Linked DNA regions of Homo sapiens: region 1 is linked to region 2. Evidence: promoter capture Hi-C in 16 types of primary human blood cells and fetal thymus (Javierre and others, 2016). All regions are on one chromosome and are shown on one strand. Each heading gives the region's core, a stretch centred on a gene start or on the middle of the fragment in contact. The rest is flanking DNA. Distances are from core to core; before and after follow the strand shown. Region 1 holds the start of SNTA1 (syntrophin alpha 1). Region 2 holds the start of CHMP4B (charged multivesicular body protein 4B).

What was found. The method cuts DNA at HindIII sites, captures the fragments that hold promoters and counts their contacts. A CHiCAGO score of 5 or more calls a contact.
Region 1: the fragment with the promoter of SNTA1 here is called in contact with the fragment with the promoter of CHMP4B in region 2 in 2 of 17 cell types (monocytes and total CD8 T cells); the score reaches 5.1 in monocytes.

Annotation. Positions count from the first base shown.
Region 1 is chr20:33,442,172-33,446,973 of GRCh38, forward strand. SNTA1 (syntrophin alpha 1) reads right to left here and starts at 1,592. Exons shown (of 8, transcript NM_003098.3): 1 at 1,140-1,592. The coding sequence starts at 1,449. RefSeq lists silencers at 1,138-1,197, 1,308-1,787 and enhancers at 2,018-2,087, 2,066-2,566, 2,538-2,597. The HindIII fragment of the contact is 9,847 bases long and covers 1-4,175 here.
Region 2 is chr20:33,808,330-33,812,925 of GRCh38, forward strand. It overlaps CHMP4B (charged multivesicular body protein 4B), which reads left to right and starts at 3,019. Exons shown (of 5, transcript NM_176812.5): 1 at 3,019-3,329. The coding sequence starts at 3,140. ZNF341-AS1 (ZNF341 antisense RNA 1) reads right to left here and starts at 2,770. Exons shown (of 4, transcript NR_110623.1): 1 at 2,711-2,770. RefSeq lists enhancers at 2,694-2,988, 2,728-2,807, 3,574-4,414, 4,243-4,312 and a silencer at 2,868-3,147. The HindIII fragment of the contact is 5,812 bases long and covers 1,894-4,596 here.

The DNA of each region.
Region 1 (4,802 bases), core at 342-2,841, 370 kb before region 2:
GTGGATCATGAGACTAGTGTCCTGGGCACAGCACCTGGCACACAGTGGTGGCATTCACCACCATCCCCACCGCCTCAGCCAAGCCAAACGGTCTGGAGGCACTAGTCAACAGAACCAGTACCAGGGAGACCCCAGAGGGTACGGTATGTATTCAAGGTGGAGACAAAGGCTGATACCCTTTCCCAAAGCACCTGCTGGGGGCTGGGACCCTGAGAAACAGATGGGCAGGAATAGTGAACCCAGCAGCTGGGGGTGTGCAAGGATTTTAACAACTATGTTTAGTTGCTTTGGGAGTATCTGCTGGCCTCCATTTTTCCTCTCCGCTAACAGCAGTAATTAACTAGGCACCTACAGTGTGCTGGTGTGGTGAGCCCTGCTCTCAGAAACATCACAACTCTGTCATCCTCTTATACAGTTGAGGAAACAGATTCAGAGGCGGGACGGGACTTTTGCAACCTCACACAGCTGATCCTGGATTCAAACACAGTCTGGTTGCACCCTAACTGCACCCCACTAGCGGTCAGTCCTGGGGGCTGAAAGCTCTATCCTGTGCAAGGTGGAGATAGTCAGATCAGGAGACCCAAATCCAGCTGTCAGGGCTCCCTGCAGCCTTCCTGGGTCCTTAGATTCCTAGGTCCTTGCTGGCCTTCTGCCTGTGACCCCAGCCTGTGCCTGCACCCAGGCCTCCTATCCACCCCTGTGCTTCCCAGACTCCAGGCTTCCCCTCTGCACCCACCTTGGTTGCTTCTCAGGGACTCCCTCCTCCCTGTCCCACTGGTGTCCCGGCCTCAACCCCCTTTCTCCACACTCTGCTTTCCGGGGGACCCCTCTTGTCCTTGATGTTCATGCTGGTTACCCCTCAGACCCCCCCGCCTCCACACAGAACTCCCACCCACGTGTCCTTGGTGCTCCCACAATCTTATCCACACCTGTGTCTTCCGTGCCCCCTAAGGCCACCAACTACTGAAACCCCCTCCAACCTTGGTGTGCCCAGTGCCCTCCGTTACCTGTTTCCTCAGACCCCCCTTACCCCCAGACAGGAAGCCTCCAGCTCCATGTCCTGGGCGCGCTGCCAGCCCCCTGCGCCCTCGGCTGCCCCCAGACACCACGACCCCGCGCCCTCGGTGTCCCGCGCCCACCTTTGATGCTGATGCCCAGCCCACCGGCGTCGGCCTTGCGCACCGTCACGCGGCGCCGCTGGAGCAGTAGCGCCTCTGGCAGCTGCGGGGGCCCGGCGCCCGGCTCCGCGGCGCCGTTGAGCTGCGCGGGCTCCTGCTCCCGCGGAGCGCCGGGCTCGGGACCAGGGTCGCCGTCGGCGGGGCTCACGGTCAGCACGTCCTCCGCCAGACTCAGCAGCACCCGCTGCCATCGCTCGCCGCCGGCCCCCGAGCCCGCCCCGGCGCGCAGCTCCAGCAGCCCGGTGCGCGGGGCGCGCCTGCCGGACGCCATCTTCGCCTCCGAGCCCCCGGGCCGCCGCGCTCGCCCTGTCCCGCTTTGCCCAGCCCGCTCCGACCAAGCGCCCAGGGCAGAGGGCAGCGGGGGCCCGGCTGGGCCAGCCGCCACCCTACCCCGGCCGCTGGGGGAGGAGCTCTGGGGGCGGGGCTACCCTGGGGTGTGGCCAGTGCTGGGGAGGGGGCCTCGGGCAAATGCAGGAGGCCGGGGCGGGGCCCGGGAGCCGAGGGCCGCCGTGTGGGACTACCTAGCGGGGTGGGTCAGAAGGGCGGCGGGGCGGGCCACTAAGTAAGGCGAAAGCCCGGGAGGCGTGGTGCTGGGCGGGGCGTCAGGGGGCGGGGCTTCGCGTCGGGGGCGGAACCCAGTGAGCCCGCGCAGGGGGCTCGGCGCTCGGAATGCCCATCGAGGGCCGGGACTGTAACTCCCGGACGTGGGAGCGCATGAAAAAGAGACAGAACCACGTATCCTGGTGCGAAGCACTGGGCATCGGGCTGGGCTGCATATGGCGGAGGGCTGGGCTGCGTATGGTAGAGCGTTGGACTCCAAGGCTTGAGTTTAAGAGGTAGACACCGTCTGGGCGTGGAGGCTCACGCCTGTAATCCCAACACTTTGGGAGGCCTAGATGACAGCCCAGAAGCTCGAGGCTGCAGTAAGCCGCGATCGCGCCACTGCACTCCAGCCTGGGTGACAGAGCGAAACCCTGTGTCAAAAAAAAAAAAAAAAAAAAAAGGTAGATGCTGAGCCGCGAGAGACCTTGCGGGCACAGTTGCTAGTTGGGGAGCTGAGGAAGAAGTTGGTTTCCTATCGGGGAGGGCGGGGGATGGGGGGTGGGGGTCGAGGCTTTGGTCTGTGGGCGTGGCTTATCGCTGGCGTGGCTTCTAAAGATGACAGGCCCCGCCCCCTGGAGGAGACCGCTACCGACACCGCTTAGGGCTTGGGGGAGGTGTGGGCAGGATCCCCACTTCAAAACTGGAGGGAAGTTTAAGAGATTAACCCCTGGCTGTGTTCACAGTCGAGTATAGAAAAGCCTGAAGTCCCACACTTTGAGGCCTGGCAGAAAAAAAACAGAACTGGTGTGTGGGAAGAGGGTTGCAAGGTGGGGCTCTGGGTCTGGGCGACTGGAGACATGGTTTCTAATCTTTGCTGCCTCTGTTAGCTCCAAGTCGACTTTGGTCCCCTCACGTCACTGCTCTAGGCCTCAATTTCCTCATCTGTAAAATGTGGATCATAATAATACCTACTTCACTGGGCTGGTGTGAGGATTAAATCAATGTGAAAACACGTGGTAAACTGTGACTCCCTATTCTATAGAAATAATCACTTTCATTTAGTGAATGCTTACTCTTACCTAGGGCTGGCAGAATATTTTCCAAGTGTTATCTTTACATTAGCCTCCTGGAGTAGCTAAGAGCACCCCCAGCTGGGCACAGTGGCTCACACCTGTAATCACAGCTGAGGTGGCAGGATCGCTTGAGCCTTGGAGGTCCAGGCTGCAGTGAGCTGTGATTGCACCATCACACTCCAGCCTTGGTGACAGAGCAAGAAAAAAGAGCACCCCTATTATACAGAAGGGAAAACTTGGATTTAGTCTAATTGGCCTAGGTCACACATTTATGAGTGAGGAAGAGCTGCGATTCAAACCCAGGCCTGTTTGACACCAGTGCCTGGGCACTGAACCACTCTGCTAGACAGCTGACAAATACAGAGGTAAAGCATGATTGTAATCTGAAAAATCCACCACATCACACAGCTCAACTGGCCTTCATACCTGCTCCTTGTCTCTATCCTCCATTCCTAGCTGGGATATGTTGAGCAATAAATAAGTAGGACTACACCAGTGTTTAGCCTCCCTGAACTTTTGGGTAAAATCCTCCACATAAGATACCATCAAGAAAAAAAAGAGGGGGCCAGGTATGGTGGCTCATGCCTGTAATCCCAGCACTTTAGGAGGCCGAGGCAGGTAGATCACGAGGTCAGGAGTTTGAGACTCAGCCTGGCCAACATGGTGAAACCCCATCTCTACTAAAAATATAAAAAAATTAGCCGGGCGTGGTGGCAGACACCTATAATCCCAGCTACTCAGGAGGCTGAGGCAGGAGAATCACTTGAACCCGGGAGGCGGAGATTGCAGCAAGCAGAGATTGCACCACTGCACTCCAGCCTGGGTGATAGGGTGAGACTCCGTCTCAAAAAAAAAAAAAAAAAAAACCAACAACAAAAAAAAGGAATTGTTTTAAGTTAGAGTGGTAGGTGTCAAAACAGGAGAGACACAGGTTTTAAAAAAAGAACCCAGGGTCTTTTATACATATATATATGGGATGCCGAGGAGGAATGATCACTTGAGGCTAGGAGTTTGAGACCACTTGGGCAACTTCACGAGACTCCATCTCTACAAAATAAAGAAATTAGCCAAGCGTGGTAATGTGCACCTGTACTCCCAGCTACTTAGGAAGCTGCAGCAGGAGGCCTGTTTGAGGCTGCTGCTGTGAGCCACAATCATGCCACTGCACTCCAGCCTGGGTGACAGAGCAAGACCCTGTCTCAAAAATAAATAAAAGAAAGTGAGAGGAAGGAAGGAGAGAAGGGAGGCAGGGAAGGAATATAGCATTGTATATAAGCATTGATATCTTAAAAGTATGACTGTGCTTAAAGATTGTAGGACAGCCTGAGGAATTTGGGGTAAGCACTTGTGATAAATAACTACAGCCTACTTGGCTTGTGGAAGCTTCACTCCAATGGTAGAGAAGGGAGGGGAGGACAGACCTGGCAGGAGGCAAGAGACCAGCAGGGAATTGAAGCTCCTTTCCCAAGACCAAAGCCTGGAACCAGATCCTTAAAAGTCCCCCCACGTACTGCCCTGCTTAAAAAAGACTTAATGAGGCCCAGACAAACTTACTGAGAAAGAGCCCTAAGAGAGGGCTTCTCCTCTGGGGGACAGTTTCCTGTGGATATAACAGGAAGGAAGGAAGTAGGGAAAGGAGTGATGTGTGCAAAGGGGCTAACACAGAAAGAAGATGTAGAGCCAAGGAAACAGTGACGTGTGTATGCATATGTATACGTCTGTATGTGAGTATGGGTGTGTGTGTTTGTGATCACACTTGATAGGCAGTGCCAATCACCTGTAGCTACCCCCAAGAACCCTGTAGCTGCAGGAATGCTCTATCCCTACACTGTGGTCAGCCGATGCCTCTCTGCTGTGGCTCAGAAATTGGCCTCCCAGATAGATACACATAGGCCCGGCTCCCTGCCAAGCCCCAGGCAGAGCTCCCAGAGAAAACCAGTTCACTCCCAAGGAATAGGAGAGGGGGAAGGGGAAAAAAAGGGAGAGAGGGGAGCTGCCCAGCCTACTA
Region 2 (4,596 bases), core at 1,769-4,268:
AGTAGAGACAGGATTTCACCACGATGGCCGGGCTGGTCTCAAACTCCGGGCCTCAAGTGATCTGCCCACCTCGGCCTCCCAAAGTCCTAGGATTACAGGTGTTAGCCACTATGCCTGGCCTCTTTCTTTTTAATTCATAGAAGTGTGGCTGCAGAAGTTGTAATCCTTTGGTGACCACACGAGTGGTTTTAATGCTGTGTTCTATCTGAGGATTGAATTCCATAATTTTGTCCTTTAATGTCTGTGCAATTTGAAACACTCGGCAAATTTTGATAACACCCATATTGCTGGTTCTGTTTCTGTTTCTCCTTCATTTTCCTCTTTCTTTGTAGATGACTTGACAAGTTCTTCCAATTCCACATTTGTTAACACTTCCCAGTGGCCTTCAATATGATCTTCCACTTCTTCATCAAGCATGTCCCCAAATCCTTCTCCACCAACTTGTCTTGCTGTAGCCTCTCCAGTAATATTTATTTATTTATTTGTGACAGGGTCTCACTCTGTCACCCAGGCTCGAGTGCAGTGGTGAGATCACAGCTCACTGCAGTTTCAAACTCCCAGGCTCAGATGATCTTCATGGCTCAGTCTCCTGAGCAGCTGGGACTATAGGCCTGTGCCATCATGCCCAGCTAAATTTTGTATTTTTTGTAGGGATGGGGTTTCGCCATGTTGCCCAGGCTGGCCTCAACTCCTGGGCTCAAGCGATCCACCTGCCTTGGTCTCCCAAAATGCTGGAATTACAGGCGTGAGTCACCGCACCCAACCTCCAGTAACTTTTTTTTTTTTTTTTGACACGGAGCCTCGCTCTGTTGCCCAGGCTGGAGTGCAGTGGTGCCATCTCGGCTCACTGCCAGCTCTGCCTCCCGGGTTCACGCCATTCTCCTGCCTCAGCCTCCTGAGTAGCTGGGACTACAGGCGCGTGCCACCATGCCTGGCTAATTTTTTTGTATTTTTAGTAGAGATGGAGTTTCACCGTGTTAGCCAGGATGATCTTGATCTCCTGACCTCGTGATCCGCCCGCCTCGGCCTCCCAAAGTCCTGGGATTACAGGCATGAGCCACCGCGCCCGGCCTTTTTTTTTTTTTTTTTTTTGACACGGAGTCTCTCTCTGTCGCCCAGGCTGGAGTGCAGTGGCGCAATCTCGGCTCACTGCAAGCTCTGCCTCCTGGGTTCACGCCATTCTCCTGCCTCAGCCTCCAGAGTAGCTGGGACTACAGGCACCCGCCGCCACCATGCCAGGCTAATTTTTTGTATTTTTAGTAGAGACGGGGTTTCACCTTGTTAGCCAGGATGGTCTCGATCTCCTGACCTCGTGATCCGCCCGCCTTGGCCTCCCAAAGTGCTGGGATTACAGGCGTGAGCCACCGCGCCCGGCTCCAGTAATTTTTTTTTTCTTTTTGAGACAGAATTTTGCTCTTTTCGCCCAGGCTGGAGTGCAATAGCACGATTTCAGTTTACTGCAACCTCTGCCTCTCAGGTTCAAGTGATTCTCCTGCCTCAGCCTCCCAAGTAGCTGGGATTACAGGCGTGCGCCACCACGCCCAGCTAATTTTTTTATTTTTATTTTTTATTTTTAGTAGAGATGGGGTTTCACCACGTTGGCCAGGCTGGTCTCAAACTCCTGACCTCAGGTGATCCATCCGCCTAGGCCTGCCAGAGTGCTGAGATTACAGGTGTGAGCCACTGTGCCCAGCCCATCCAGTAATTTTTATATTTTGCAGTCTAAACCTATTCCTAAGTCAGTGCAACCATCCATTACTTTCAGTAAGTGGCTTGGTGCCACTGGTTTTAGGAGATTCCTTGCTGAAGCCTTTATACAGGCTCAATGCTTTCTGGGGGGTAACAGGTTGCTGTCAGTTGGAACACATTTTTTGTTCGTGTCTTCCACGTATAAGCTTAATGCTTTTTCTTTTCTTTTGTAAAAAAATTTATTTTCTTTTTTTCCCCTGTAAGTAAGGATACAACTTAATGCCTTTTCTATCTTAACTAAGCACTTATCACACACTGTGGCTGTAACTTTTGCAGTTTGAGGTACGACAGCAAAACCAGCATGAATTTCTTTTTCCTCTTTCACAATTCTAGGGCTAGAAGATTCGTTCTTACTGCAGACCTCAGTAAGCTCAGCATACGATTTTTTTTCTTAAGCTCAGAACTTCCACATTTACATTTAAAGGAAGCACTTTACAGCTTCATTTTGGCATATCCAAACTGCCAGCATTACTACTCTTGCACTTTGGGGCCATTATATAGTAAAATGAGGGTTACTCGAACCAAAGCACTGCAACACCGTGGCAGTCCATCTGATAACTCCTAAGCTGGTAAGTAACTAACAGATGGTAGAGGTATGTTGGACAAAGGGATGATTCACATTGCAGGTAGGATGGAACAGGATAGCACGAGATTTCATTAGGCCAATGGAAATTAAAAACTTATGAACTGTTTATTTCTGGAATTTTCTATTTAATACTGTCAGACCTTAGCTGGCCAAGTGAAACTACTCAAAGTAAAATCTCAGATAAGGGGGACACTACCGTACTTAACTGGAGAAGATACTGCTTTGCTTCTGTGACCACAGAATTGACAGGTTGAAATTGGAAACAACTGTTGCCTTCACGCTTTTAAGACAACTTCACATGAATATACATGTGAAGTTCAAGCATGGCAGTATCCCATACTAGCAATAAATTTTTGAGCAGTGTTGCACACTTACTGTCATTTCTCTTACTGTTCTGCCACTCCTACAGAGCGCAGGCCAAGGAGACTACATTTCCCAGAATGCCACACGCCCTTTGACCCCAGCTACAGCAAAAGACGCGCCGGGGAGCGCCTGAAGCCGGAAGACTATAGCTTCCCGGCATGCAGCACGCTTCCCCCTATTAGATTTGAGGCGCGGCCGGCGCGTTGCCCACTGGGAGTTGTAGTCAGTGGCGCGTTGCCCTGACGCCTGCCGGGCCGGGCGTGGGGGCCTGTGGGAGGTGGCGCGGCCGGGCCCAGCTGCGGGGCGGAGGCGGAGGCGGAGGAGAGGCCTGCGGCGGCAGGGAGCGGCGGGACTGGGAGCGGGCGCCGGAGCCGACCCGAGCCGAGCCGAGCCGAGCCGAGCCGGAGCGGGCGGCGAAGGCCGGCGCGGCGAGCAGCAACCATGTCGGTGTTCGGGAAGCTGTTCGGGGCTGGAGGGGGTAAGGCCGGCAAGGGCGGCCCGACCCCCCAGGAGGCCATCCAGCGGCTGCGGGACACGGAAGAGATGTTAAGCAAGAAACAGGAGTTCCTGGAGAAGAAAATCGAGCAGGAGCTGACGGCCGCCAAGAAGCACGGCACCAAAAACAAGCGCGGTGAGGCTGCCCGGCCCCTTCAGACTTGCCACGGGCTCCCCCCAGGCTCCCCGGGCCCGGACTTCACCTTCATCAGACTCGCCTCGGGGTCTGGTCTGACCCTGGAACTCTCCGGGTCAGACTTCTTGCCGGGTCTGGGACCCCCTCCCCGACTCCCTTCAATGTCTCCCCGATCCCTGGACTTTTCCATCGTCAGACTTATTCTGCCCTCTCCCCTCAGCCTCTCTCCACCCCGCCAGGTCCCTTCAGACCCCAATCTCACAGCACTTTCCTCCGCCCTCACTCTGTCCCTTTCTCTTCCGCCTTTTCCTTCTCGCCTCACCCACCTGCCTAGCTACTGCCCCTGCCTCCTCCTCGGCTCATTTCTGCCCCCATCCTAGCATTTCTGTGCTTCCTGGTCCTACCTGTGCCCTCTCCCGACTCCTCGGTGGAATCTGTGAGCTGCCCCTTGGCCTCTCCCCTGTCCTCTTGTCTCAGAATTCTCGTTGAAAAGCCTCCTTGCTGGAGAGAAAAGGGGACTGGGGGAGATGAGACCCCCGATTCCTGCTCTATTCACTTGCTGAGTGAACTTGAGCAAGTTGCTTTCCCTTTGAGGCCTCAGTTTCCCCATCCGTCAGCCAGAGTTCGGCCTCTGTTGAGGCCTAAGGTGTTTTCCAGCGTTGTGATTCACTTTTTGTTGCCTCGTAGCTTGACCTTACCAAAGTTTCCCGTGGCGCAAGCCTTCACCCCATGACTCACCGCTTCCCCATCCGTCTGAACCAGAAATAGAGACTCCCGACTGCTCCCCAGTCCCCACTACTAGGATTCAGGGCCCCAGTATTGAATCTTGAGGCACTGCTTACTTTACTTCCTGTTGTCGTATGGCTTTCTGGGCATTCCAAGTGCTTTGTGTTTTTCTTAAGTGAGATGAATGTGAAAATGCTTTAAAACTGTAAAGCAGTTTAGAAATGTTTGCTTTTTCTTGTTATGGCCATGTGAGAGTGAATCACAGAACGACATCCCTTCCCCTTGAGAGGGGTTTAGGATTGAGGTAATTCACTCAGAAGTCTGCTAGTGACTAGCAGTGCGACCTTGAGCTCATTTACCTTTCTGAAAGGAAAATCATGGATTTACAGTGCTCAGCACATAGTAGGGGCTAAATCGATGTTTTCTCCATTCTAATAGGAGAACAAAATAGCCTATCTGGAGGATGCTTCTCTGCTGATAGTCAACAGATATTCTGGAAATTCTTTTTAGTGCCTGCTGCATGCGCTGTATTCATAGGGGT